2 separate regions of the Homo sapiens genome follow, and region 2 is linked to region 1. The links are contacts of gene promoters, found by promoter capture Hi-C in human tissues and cell types (Jung and others, 2019). All regions are on one chromosome and are shown on one strand. Each heading gives the region's core, a stretch centred on a gene start or on the middle of the fragment in contact. The rest is flanking DNA. Distances are from core to core; before and after follow the strand shown.

Region 1 (5,469 bases), core at 1,042-3,541:
AGCATTCTGGTCTTCTGCAATTGGCTGCCCTGCTCTGGGACTGGAAGTATAAAGGGATTAGACCCAGCTAGGAACACCTCATCCCACAACCTGAGGCCCAGACCTGGCTTCAGAATCCTTCTCAACACAGCTCACTAGGTAAGCTTTATCTATCAAATTAAGATGTGCTTGGAAACGATGAGAAGGTACTTACGTGCAGCAGGCATTAGCACCTGCTCATGGTCACAACTGTCCAGCAGTGGCCTAGCTGTCTCTGCAAATGGCAAGCACCCCTTCTCAGAATGTGTGACGGTGTGTCAGCCAAGAATGGCCCCCCACAGCTAGGGCACTGCATAGCCCAACAGGGGTGGAGAAGGGGAGGGCCAGAGAAGGCTTGAGGTCCCTTCCGGTGGCAAAATTCAGGTGGACAATGCTCAGGTGGACTCACTCCACTTCCACAGATGAGGACCACACCTCCCTCACCCAAGCATCCTGGCCTGGAAAGTTTCCACCATTGCAAAGCTCACAAAGAGGCTCAGAGAGGGTGTGCAATCTGCTCCCAGTTGCTCAGCACAGCTAGGAAACAGGCAGTGTTGAACAAGGACCTCCAGGCCAGTCTCAGATGGACTTGGACCATGCCTATTCCCTCACCCCACAACAAAAGCTCTCCCCACCAGAGAGCTCATGGTGTGTGCGCGCCTTTACAGTGAATCAGAGCCACTCTAAGGGAGAGTGAGAGGAAGCCCTGGGGTTCCTCCCCTCCCCACTCCACCCTATCTCGGTGCCTTCTTCTGGGGAACCAGAAACACCCTCCAACAATAAAGAGGCCCTTTGAGACGGGGCAGCCCACTGTCACCTGCTAGGACCTGGGAACCCTACCCTGCAAAGAAACTGCGGATCCCCACGAAGGTGGGGAGGAAACCTCCACCCAAGAGGCAGCCAGGGAAAACAGCAGAGATCCCTAGAAGCCCATGTTGGGCTCCCGTTTTGGGCTCTGAGTGAGCCTGTATTGAGAGGGGTCCGGTGGCTGGTTGGGCCATGGCTCCAGGAGTCCCCGCGCTGCCTCACCTTCTGTGCCTGGCTGATCATCTTCCGCACCACCTCTTTGATGTGGGCCTGCCCGTCTATGGGGGGCTGCATGTAGACGCTAGCCCGGGTCACGCCGCGGTAGGCGATGGTGTCGGGCCAGCCCAGGTCCAGCTGCGGGATGGAGCGGTCCGACTTCTGGGGCCAGTACTCCAGGGAGGGCAGCGGCTCGGCCTCGATGGGGACCCCATCCGCCCCGCTGGCTTCCTCGCCGTCGCCGACCCCATTGTCCTCGGGCCCCTGAGAGGGGCCCGTGCCCCGAGGGTCCTCAGAGCCCGGGTCGTACACCTCGATGGTCTCCAGGATGCGCTTGAGCTCCAGCTCCGAGAGGAAGTCTCGGATGTTCTCCCGCTTGAGCACCTCGTAGAAGGCGTCCCGGCCGCGGGCCACCAGGGCCTCCAGCGCCAGCCGCTGCTCCTCGCTGTAGAAGAACTCAGGCTTGGACTCGCTGGAGCGCCAGTTCACATGGTTGTCGTCCAGACACTGCACCTGAGAGAAGGCCATGGCGCCGCCTGCCCGGGCACTGCTGCCGGGGGTGGGTGGGCAAGGTCCAGCTCCTAGCTCCGGCCCAGCTGGGGCACCGCGCGCTCGGGGGCCTCTCCGCGGCCTCTGCTTCTCTGCCCATGAGCAATCTGCGGGAAAGACCTGATGAGCCCGGCTCGGCGGGGAGGGCGGGCCGCGCGGGGAGGGGCGGCGGGGGCGGGGCCGGGAACTCAGGTGGGCGTGGGAAGGACGGGGCTGGGGCTGGGGCTGGGAAGATGAGGTGGGGGCACTGGACTGGGATGGGAAGAAAGTAAGGGATCGGAACAGCGGTGAGGGAGCGGTGGGCCACGTCCCAGGGCTCAGCGTGCCTCTACGTGCAGGGAACCCATATCCCAGATTTCCGGAGCTGCCTGAAGTCCTCGCAACTTCTGAGGGAAACTAGGGCAGCCGGGGAACTTCCCAGTAGCTTCTTAGAGTGGGAGGCGGCCCCGGCACAGAGGCGCCCCGCAAACCGAGGGCTTCCGGGTAAGGGAGGGGTCTTAAAATTTCCGGGTGCCGGCAACCCAGGAGGCCTGCCCGGAGGAGGCTGGGGCTCTGGGAGGGGTCCAGGAGACCCAGAAACGCGGTTGCGGGGCGGCGACGCCCCGCGAGACCCGGGATCCGGGGGGCGCGGCCGGGACTTGCTTACCGAGCGGGCGCTGGCGGAGCGGGGCGCACACGCGGCGGCTGCGGCGGCGGCGCGAGGCTGGGCGGGGGCGCGCCGGTGACTCAGGGCCGCCCCGCTTACCCCGCCGCCGCCACCTGCGGTCACGTGCCGCCCGGGGCGGGGCCGGAAGCTGATTCACCCCTCGACAGACAGACAGACCTGGGGCGGACGCACTGCCCACGGTCCCCTGGTGCCCGAATTCCGAAAATATCAGAGGCCTAAGCCCAAGAGCTCCTGGAACACCCATCCCAGAGAGGGACAGTGTTCTCCCTGAGGTCACACAGCGGGTCAACAGCCTTGGCACCCCCCTGTGCCCCCAGGGTCTGTTGGTGATCCTGGATCAACCCTGGCTGTGCCCAGTTTCGCCGGCGTGGCGGGAAGTCCGTGCGGCTGTATAGATACCCAGCTGTCCAGTTGTGGAAACAGGTCTAGGGTACTGGGCTGGGAGCCCCCAGGCAGGGATAGGGCACTGACTGACCCAAACTCAGGGCTTTCCTGAGCAGATACCCAGTTCTCAGTCCTAAGCCCTGATCCCCTCTGGGAGGGGTCCCCGGACTGCTTCTGCGTGGCGGGCAGCACCCGACCTGAACCCTAGGGCAGGGAGGGGCCAAGAGGGCCGCTGTGGGCTGGGGTCAGGCCCAGCTCTCTGCTGAGCGTCCCCTGGGGTTGGGACCCTGGTTATGGGGAGCGTGGAGACCACATCTGAAGGCAGGCTTTGAGGGTGGGACAGCAAAGCCCATTAAATCTGGCCCAACAAACAGCCCCCACCCCATCGCGTGCCGCAGCCAGTCTGCCCGGCACCAGGCCCAGCCCTTCCTCCCATCCCCCATACTTGCTCTGGATCTGGATGGGGCTGGTTTGGGTCCCGTAAGGATGCTGCTTCCGTAGGCTGGTGACATCTCTAGGCCTTGTGCCCTCAAACCCCCCCCCTCCAAGGCCTTCTCCACCATTCATGGCCCATCAGGACTCCTTGCCTCTGAGTCCACTGCCCTGGGCAATGACTAGCCTCCTAGGCCCAGCATCCTTGTGGTCCCCATCACTGACCCCTCAAGCATGAAGTCCTACACTCTGCCATATAGCCCCCCAAGGGCTTTATGCTACTGAACATAGTGGCCCCTGGGGAACAGGCACACATATTTGCATCCTCCTCCTGCCCCAGGGCCAGAGAGGGGAGGTGATCCCAGCGGGGGAGCCCTGCCTTGAGGGTCCTGAAGACCCATTTATAGCCCCTCTGCTACTGTGGATCCCCTGTAAGACCTTCTCTGAGCCGCCTCAGCTTCTCCCTGTGTTCTTACCAATGCACAGAGGCTGGAGAGTTCAGGAAGGGAGTCCAAGGCCTCACTCCCACCTCCACCACCCCAACACTTCTGCAGTTGATGAGCAGGAAGGTTGTATGCACCCAGTTTTCCCCAGTAGCGACGTTTTGCATAACTATAATACAATAATATCACAGCCAGAAAATTGACACTGGTGCAATCCACAAAGCTTATTTAGATTTCACCAGTTTTTTGTTTGTTTTGGGACAGGGTCTTGCTCTGTCACCTAGGCTGGAGTGCAGTGGTATGTACAATCATTGCTCAATGCAGCCTTGAACTCCTGGGCTCAAGCCTCAGCCTCCTGAGTAGCTGGGACCAGAGACACCATGCCCAGCTAATTTTTTTTCTTTTTTCTTTTTTCTTTTTTTTTTTTTTTTGTAGAGACAAGGCCTCACTATGTTGCTCAGACTGGTCTCAAACTCCTGGCCTCAAGTGATTCTCCCACCTTGGCCTCCCGAAGTTCTGGGATTATAGGCGTGAGCCACTGCACTGGCCAGATTTCACCAGTTTTACATGCACTCATTTATGTGTGTTATACAACCTTATTATGTGTATAGATTTGTGTAACCACCATTACAGTCAAGATACAGAACTGTTCTGTCACTACAAAGATCTCCTTCTCTGTAGCCATCCCCACACCTCCCCCGACCACCATTCCTAACTTCTGGCAACCACTAATCTATTCTACAATTCAACAATTTTGCTGTTTCAAGAATGCTATATAAATGGAAGATATAGTATATAAACTTTTGGGATTGGCCTTTTTTCCCACTTAGCATAATTCTCCAGCAAGTCATCCAGGTTGTTTCATGGATCAATGGTTTGTGCTTTTCATTGCTGACTAGTATTCCATGGTATGGATATACCACAGTTTGCTTAACCATTTCAGTGATTGAAGGATATGTGGGGTTTCCAGCTTTTGATTATTACAAATAACCTTGTTATGAGCATTCATACACATATGTATATAAACATCAGGTTTCATTTCTCTGGCATAAGTGCCCAAGAGTGTTATTCCTGGGTCCTGGTAGTTGCATGTTCAAACACTGCCAAACTTTTTCCAGAGTGGCTGTACCATTTCACATTCTCACCAACAATGTATGAGTGATCCAGTTTCTCCACATCCTTGCCAACATGTGGTGTTACCGCTATTTTTTTTTTTTTTTTTGGCCATTCTGATAGGTAGATCATATCTTATTGTGGCTTAAATTTGTGCTTTCCTGATGGCTAATGTCATTGAATCTCTTTTCATGGGCTTATATGCCATCTGTTTGTCTTTTCCTTTGAAACATTTGTTCATGTCTTTTGCCCATTTTCTAAATGGATTGTCTATTTTTTAACTCTTGAGTTTTAACTTTTTTACTTTTTTGTTTTATTAGAGATAGGCTCTTGCTCTGTTATCCAGGCTGAAGTGCAGTGGCTTAATGATAGCTCACTGCAACCTCAAATTCCTGGACTCAAGCCGTCCTCCCACTTCAGCCTCCTGAGTAGCTGGGACTACAGATGTGCACCACCATGCCTGGCTAATTGTTTTTTATTTTTAGTAGAATCATGGTCTTGCTATGTTGCCCAGGCTTATACTGTTGAATTTCAAAAGTTCTTTATATATTCTAGCTACAGGACCTTTGTTGGGTGTGTGCTCTGCAAATATTTTCTCCCAGTCAGTAGCTTGCTTTTTCATCCTCTTCGAGGTGTCTTACACAGAGCTAAAGTTTTAAATGTTGATGAGGTCCAGTTTATCAATTTTTCCTTTTATGCATCATGCTTTTGGCATCAAGTCTAAGAACTATTCACTTTGTTGAAGTCAAAATGAAAATGTAGAGATGAATCTCTATATTTAACGTTTTATTTGGGAAGAAAAATTGCAATTCAGGGCATGCACAAAGACTGGGTGGTCTT
Region 2 (5,548 bases), core at 22-2,521, 180 kb before region 1:
GAATTTACAGCATAGCCTGGAAACAACCAAGCATTCATCTTTATTCTAAAGTACCTAGAACAGAGCTGGATCTGTGACACATATTCAAAGGCTGTTTAATCAAACAGGAAAAACTCATATTTGGAGTAGGGAGTAGGGGGAGGCAAAATGGTACTCTCAATGAATTATAATATTTTAAAATTTGTCTAATAGAGAGTATAAAACAAACCAGAGAAGCATAAAGGAAGGTCATGCTAATTTTCATGAGGTATTTTCTAACTCCAGGAACAAAATGGTGAAAGGGCATTCTAAGTCAAAGGAATTTATCATGTAAAGACGGGAGTAACACACACACACACACACACACACACACACCACTCTGCTACAACCACAAGAAACACTTTGTTGTTCTTCAAATGCACCAAGCTCTCTTCAGCAGTGTTTTGTAGTGCGTATAGGACATCTTTGAAATATTCTGGATATTTAATCTTTGTCTTCTTGGCATGTTAAAAATATCTTCTGGCGGCTGGGCACGGTGGCTCACGCCTGTAATCCCAGCACTTTGGGAGGCCGAGGCGGGCGGATCACGAGGTCAGGAGATCAAGACCATCCTGGCTAACACGGTGAAACCCTGTCTCTACTAAAAATACAAAAAATTAGCCGGGCGTGGTGGCGGGCGCCTGTAGTCCCAGCTACTTGGGAGACTGAGGCAGGAGAATGGCGTGAACCTGGGAGGCGGAGCTGGCAGTGAGCCGAGATTGCGCCACTGCACTCTAGCCTGGGCGACAGAGTGAGACTCTGTCTCAAAAAAAAAAAAAAGAAAAAAAAAATCTTCCAGCCAGGTGCAGTGCTCATGCCTGTAATCTCAGCACTTTGGGAGGCCAAAGGGGGTGGATCACCTGAGGTCAAGAGTTCAAGACTAGCCTGGCCAACATGGTGAAACCCATCTCTACAAAAATACAAAAATTAGCTGGGCATGGTGGTGGGTGCCTTTAATCCCAGCTACTTGGGAGGCTGAGGCGGGAGAATCGCTTGAACCTGGGAGGCAGAGGTTGCAGTGAGCCGAGATCGTGCCACTGCACTCCAGCCTGGCAACAGAGCGAGACTCTGTCTCAAAAAGAAAAAAAAAAGAAAAAAAAGGCCTGGCGGGGTGGCTCATGCCTGTAATCCTAGAACTTTGGGAGGCCGAGGTGGGTGGACTGCCTGAGCTCAGGCATTCGAGACCAGTCTGGGCAACACAGTGAAACCCCATCTCTATTAAAATACAAAAAATTAGCCGGGCGGCATGCACCTGTAGTCCTAGCTACTCGGGAGGCCGAGGCAGGAGAATCACTTGAACCCGGGAGGCAGAAGTTGCAGTGAGCCGAGATCGCGCCACTGTACTCCAGCCTGGGTGACAGAGCGAGACTACGTCTCCAAAAAAAAAAAAAAATTCTGCTCTATAACTTCACGTTTAACATTGTTTAGGGAGGTTTTTGTTTGTTTGGTTTGTTCTTTTTAGAGGGAATCTCGCTCTGGTGGTGCACAGGTGTGCACCACCATGCCTGGATAATTTGTGTATATTTGTAGAGATGGGGTTTCACCATGTTGGTCAGGCTGGTCTGGAACTCCTGACCTCCGGTGATCCGCCCACCTTGGCCTCCCATTGTGCTGGGATTACAGGTGTGAGCCACAATGCTTGGCCAGGAGTGTTTTGACTTTTATAAGTTTTTTAAAAAATGTAGCCAAACTTACCAACTTTTATGACTTCTCTTTTCAATATTCATTGAAAACCCTCTTTATCAATGTAATAATGATATGCTACATTTTCTTTTAAAGTTATAAAATGCTGCTTTTCATATTTAGCTTTTAAAATTATCTAGAATTTATCTTGGCATATAGACTGAAGTAGGGATCTCATTTTATCTTTCCCCATGTAGACAGCCAATTGTATCAGCACCCTGTATTGAATAATCCAGATTTTCCTCACTGATTTGTGATGCCATTCTGTCAAATACCAAGTTCCTGGTGTGAATAGGTCTATTTTTTCCTTATTTATTTATAGGGGTACTTTGTGTTTTCTGAATGCTAATTCTTTGCCACTGATATATATTGTGAATGTCTTATCTCACTTTGAATTTCTCATGAATAGCAGCTCAATTAAAATTATCAATCTTTTATAGTTTCTGTTTTATGCTTCATATTTGTGAATTTCCTTCTTACCCTAAGAACATAAAGATATTTTCCTATATAGTCTCTTAAATGTTTCATAAGTTATGTCTTTAAGCCTCCTCAAATTGATTTTTTTGGTATGGTGTGAGGTAGAATCTGTAGTAATTTGTAATATTTGCTCAGAATTCTTTCTTTCCTTCCTGCCTGTGCCATGATTCATTTTGGGTAGAATGTACTCCACTTCCCCCCTGTCTTTGAGCTTAACCACGTGACTTGTTTTGGTGATTAGAATGTGAGCAGATATAATGTATGTCCCACCCAATAAGAAACTTTAAATGTGTGGTTTGATTTACTCTCGTGTATTCCTTACCTGCAACATGAGAAGTGCATGCCCCGGGTGGCCACACTCCTTCAGCTTGGGTCAGAGAATGAGAGACATGTGGAGTAGACCTGATCTGACCTCTGTGTGACTTATAGACCTCTGTGTGACAAATATATGTTTGTCATTATATGCTACTGAGATTTGGGAAGTTGTTTGTTACACAGCATAATTGCAGCAACATGGCTAACACAGAATCACATTTCTTTTTATTTCCCATGTGGCTAACCAATTACTGAAATATCTGTCCTTTTCACATTAATCTCCAATACCAACTCCATCATAAACTAAGCTTCTCTATATATGTGGTTCTCTTTCATGCCTCTCTTTTCAGTTACATTTCTCTATTTGAATATCCCTATACCAATACCCACTAACTTAATTAGTAGAGATTATAATAATTTTTTTTTTTTTTGAGATGGAGTCTCGCTCTGTCGCCCAGGCTGGAGTGCAGTGGCATAATCTCAGCTCACTGCAAGCTCCGCCTCCTGGGCTCATGCCATTCTCCTGCCTCAGCCTCCCAAGTAGCTGGAACTACAGGCGCCCACCACCACTCCTGGCCAATTTTTTTGTATGTTTAGTAGAGATGGGGTTTCACCATGTTAGCAGGATGGTCCTGATCTCCTGACCTTGTGATCTGCCTGCCTCGACCTCCCAAAGTGCTGGGATTACAGGTGTAAGCTACCGCACCTGGCCAGATTATAATAATTTTATAATCAACTTGTTAAGTACCAAAAAAGCTCTGCTAGAATTTTGATCATAACTCCATTGAAACCGTGTATCAAGTGGGGGGAATTCTCATCTTTGCAATATTGAATCTTCTGATCCATGAACATTGTATGTCTCTTAAGTCCTTGATTTCTTTAAGTAAAGTTTTTATAATTTTCTCTATAGAGGTCTTTTCTATTTGTGGTTAGCTTTATTTTTGGGTACTTTACATTTTCTGTTGCTATCATTAGTAGTATTTTATGCCATCACATTTTTTTAAAGGTTCATTTTAAATGTATATACTTTAGGATTTTTGTGTAGATATTTTGGGATTTTTATCTAGACAAACATGCAAACTGCAAATGATGACAGATTTTTTTTCCTTCATTTCCAATCTTCATATTTTTTTATGCGTTACTGCTTTCACTAGGAACTCCAGTATAATTTTGTAAGGACATGGTGGTATCAAGCACCCTTGCTTGCCCACAATATTAAGGGGAACATTTATAATATCACAGTTAACGGTAAAATGTTGAAAGCTTTGTTTGAACATGCGTGGATGTCCACTTTCAGCCATAATGTGATAACAAGAACCAGACTTATCCTCCCACTGTGAGTAACTAGAAAGTGGACAAGATACATAAAATAACTTATTTCAGGAAGTACATGATTGTGATCCCTGGGAAAATGGACATAAGTGAAAAGAACCCTATAATTGCCTTGGCTTTCTACCTGGAGGCAATTTCTGACAATAGGATAAGGGAGGAGGAATCTAAATAGAGCCTGAAATCCTCTCTGAGTTGAGAAGATCAAAGATGACCCAAAAAAGGGAACCCAGAGGACGTTAGGTGATCTGAAACCATGTCATCTGGAAAATAGTTAGAAGTCCTGGGCTGTTTAACTGGCAGTAGGGAAGACTGAGGGGCAATATGAAAACTGTCTTTAGAGATTAGAAAAACTGTCATGTTGAACAGGGGTTGTTTGTGTTCTGTATGGCCCTGAAAGACAGAGTTTAGGACAGCTGGATGGAAATGAGAGAAAGAGGATTTTGGTGAAATCCAAGGAAACACTTTCTAGCAATCATGGTTGATCAGGCTGGAGTGGGCAGCCTTCCTCAGCTGGCGGATGAAGGCACTGAGCAAGCATGCTGGGTTGTTGCTGAAGGAGCTTCTGTAGTGGCAAGTGACCAAGCTAAATGGCATCCAGGGTCCCTTTTACTCTTAAAGTTTTTCATAGTTTGGTTTGCATAGCTTGGCCTCCATAAAAGGCAGCTGTTACCAAATGACAGTGCTTTTTGTTTGTTTGTTTGAGACAGAGTCTCGCTGTCGCCCAGGCTGGAGTGCAGTGGTGCGATCTTGGCTCACTGCAGGCTCCACCCCCTGGGGTTCATGCCATTCTCTTGCCTCAGCCTCCAGAGTAGCTGGGACTACAGGCGCCCGCCACCCAGCCCGGCTAATTTTTTGTATTTTTAGTAGAGACGGGGTTTCACCGTGTTAGCCAGGATGGTCTCGATCTCCTGACCTCGTGATCCGTCCGCCTCGGCCTCCCAAAGTGCTGGGATTACAGACGTGAGCCACTGTGCCCGGCCAAGAAAAAGATATTTTTGAGTTAGTAAGTTGTATGTTTTCTTTATAGTCACATTATAATGAATTAGACTTGTTATGAAATTGGAACTTCTATTTAATTTTTAAAATAAATGACTTATGTTTAGTAAATGAATATCAATCACAATTGACCCTTAACAATGTGGAATTTAGGGATGCTTGATTCCCTCTGCAGTCAAACATCTGTGTATAAATTTTGACTCCCCCAAGAACGTAACTACTAATAGCTAACTGTTGACCAGCAGCCTTATTGATAACATAAACAGTCAATTAAGATATGTTTGGTATGGTATATGTATTAATATGCTGTATTCTTACAATAAAGGAAGCTAGGGAAATAAACTGTTAAGAAAATCATAAGGCAGAAAAAATACGCTTACTGTTCATTAAATGCAAGTGGATCATTCTATAACTCTTCATCATAGTCTTCAAGTTGAGCAGGCTAAGGAGAAGGAGGAAGAGGAAGATTAGTCTTCGCTGTCTCAGGTGGTAGAGGTGGGAGAAAATCTGCTCATAAGTAGACCCCTGCAGTTCAAATCCGTGTTGTTCAAAGGCTAACTATATTACATAGTGATTTGTGTCACTAAAAAAAAGAAATTAGTTTCAAAACTGGAAACTCAGCAATACCTTTCTGGCACCATAAACAAATGGCAATAAGAACCGTGAAATGGCCAGGTGTGCTGCCCAGACCTGTAGTCCCAGCAAGTTGGGAGGCCTAGGTGGGAGG

What was found. The method cuts DNA at HindIII sites, captures the fragments that hold promoters and counts their contacts. A contact is called where the count stands out against the background at its distance.
Region 2: a contact is called between a fragment that was not itself captured here and the fragment with the promoter of FAM83G in region 1, in 1 of the 25 tissues and cell types used here (spleen).

The regions. Positions count from the first base shown.
Region 1 is chr17:19,002,473-19,007,941 of GRCh38, forward strand. FAM83G (family with sequence similarity 83 member G) reads right to left here and starts at 2,292. Exons shown (of 6, transcript NM_001039999.3): 1 at 2,237-2,292; 2 at 1,048-1,697. The coding sequence starts at 1,569. All of the region lies in intron 9 of SLC5A10 (solute carrier family 5 member 10), which reads left to right. RefSeq lists silencers at 2,164-2,463, 3,984-4,278. The HindIII fragment of the contact is 10,221 bases long and covers 1-5,469 here.
Region 2 is chr17:18,819,266-18,824,813 of GRCh38, forward strand. No RefSeq gene overlaps it. Among named protein-coding and RNA genes, the nearest start is that of PRPSAP2, 36 kb to the right of the region's middle. The HindIII fragment of the contact is 4,013 bases long and covers 1-3,278 here.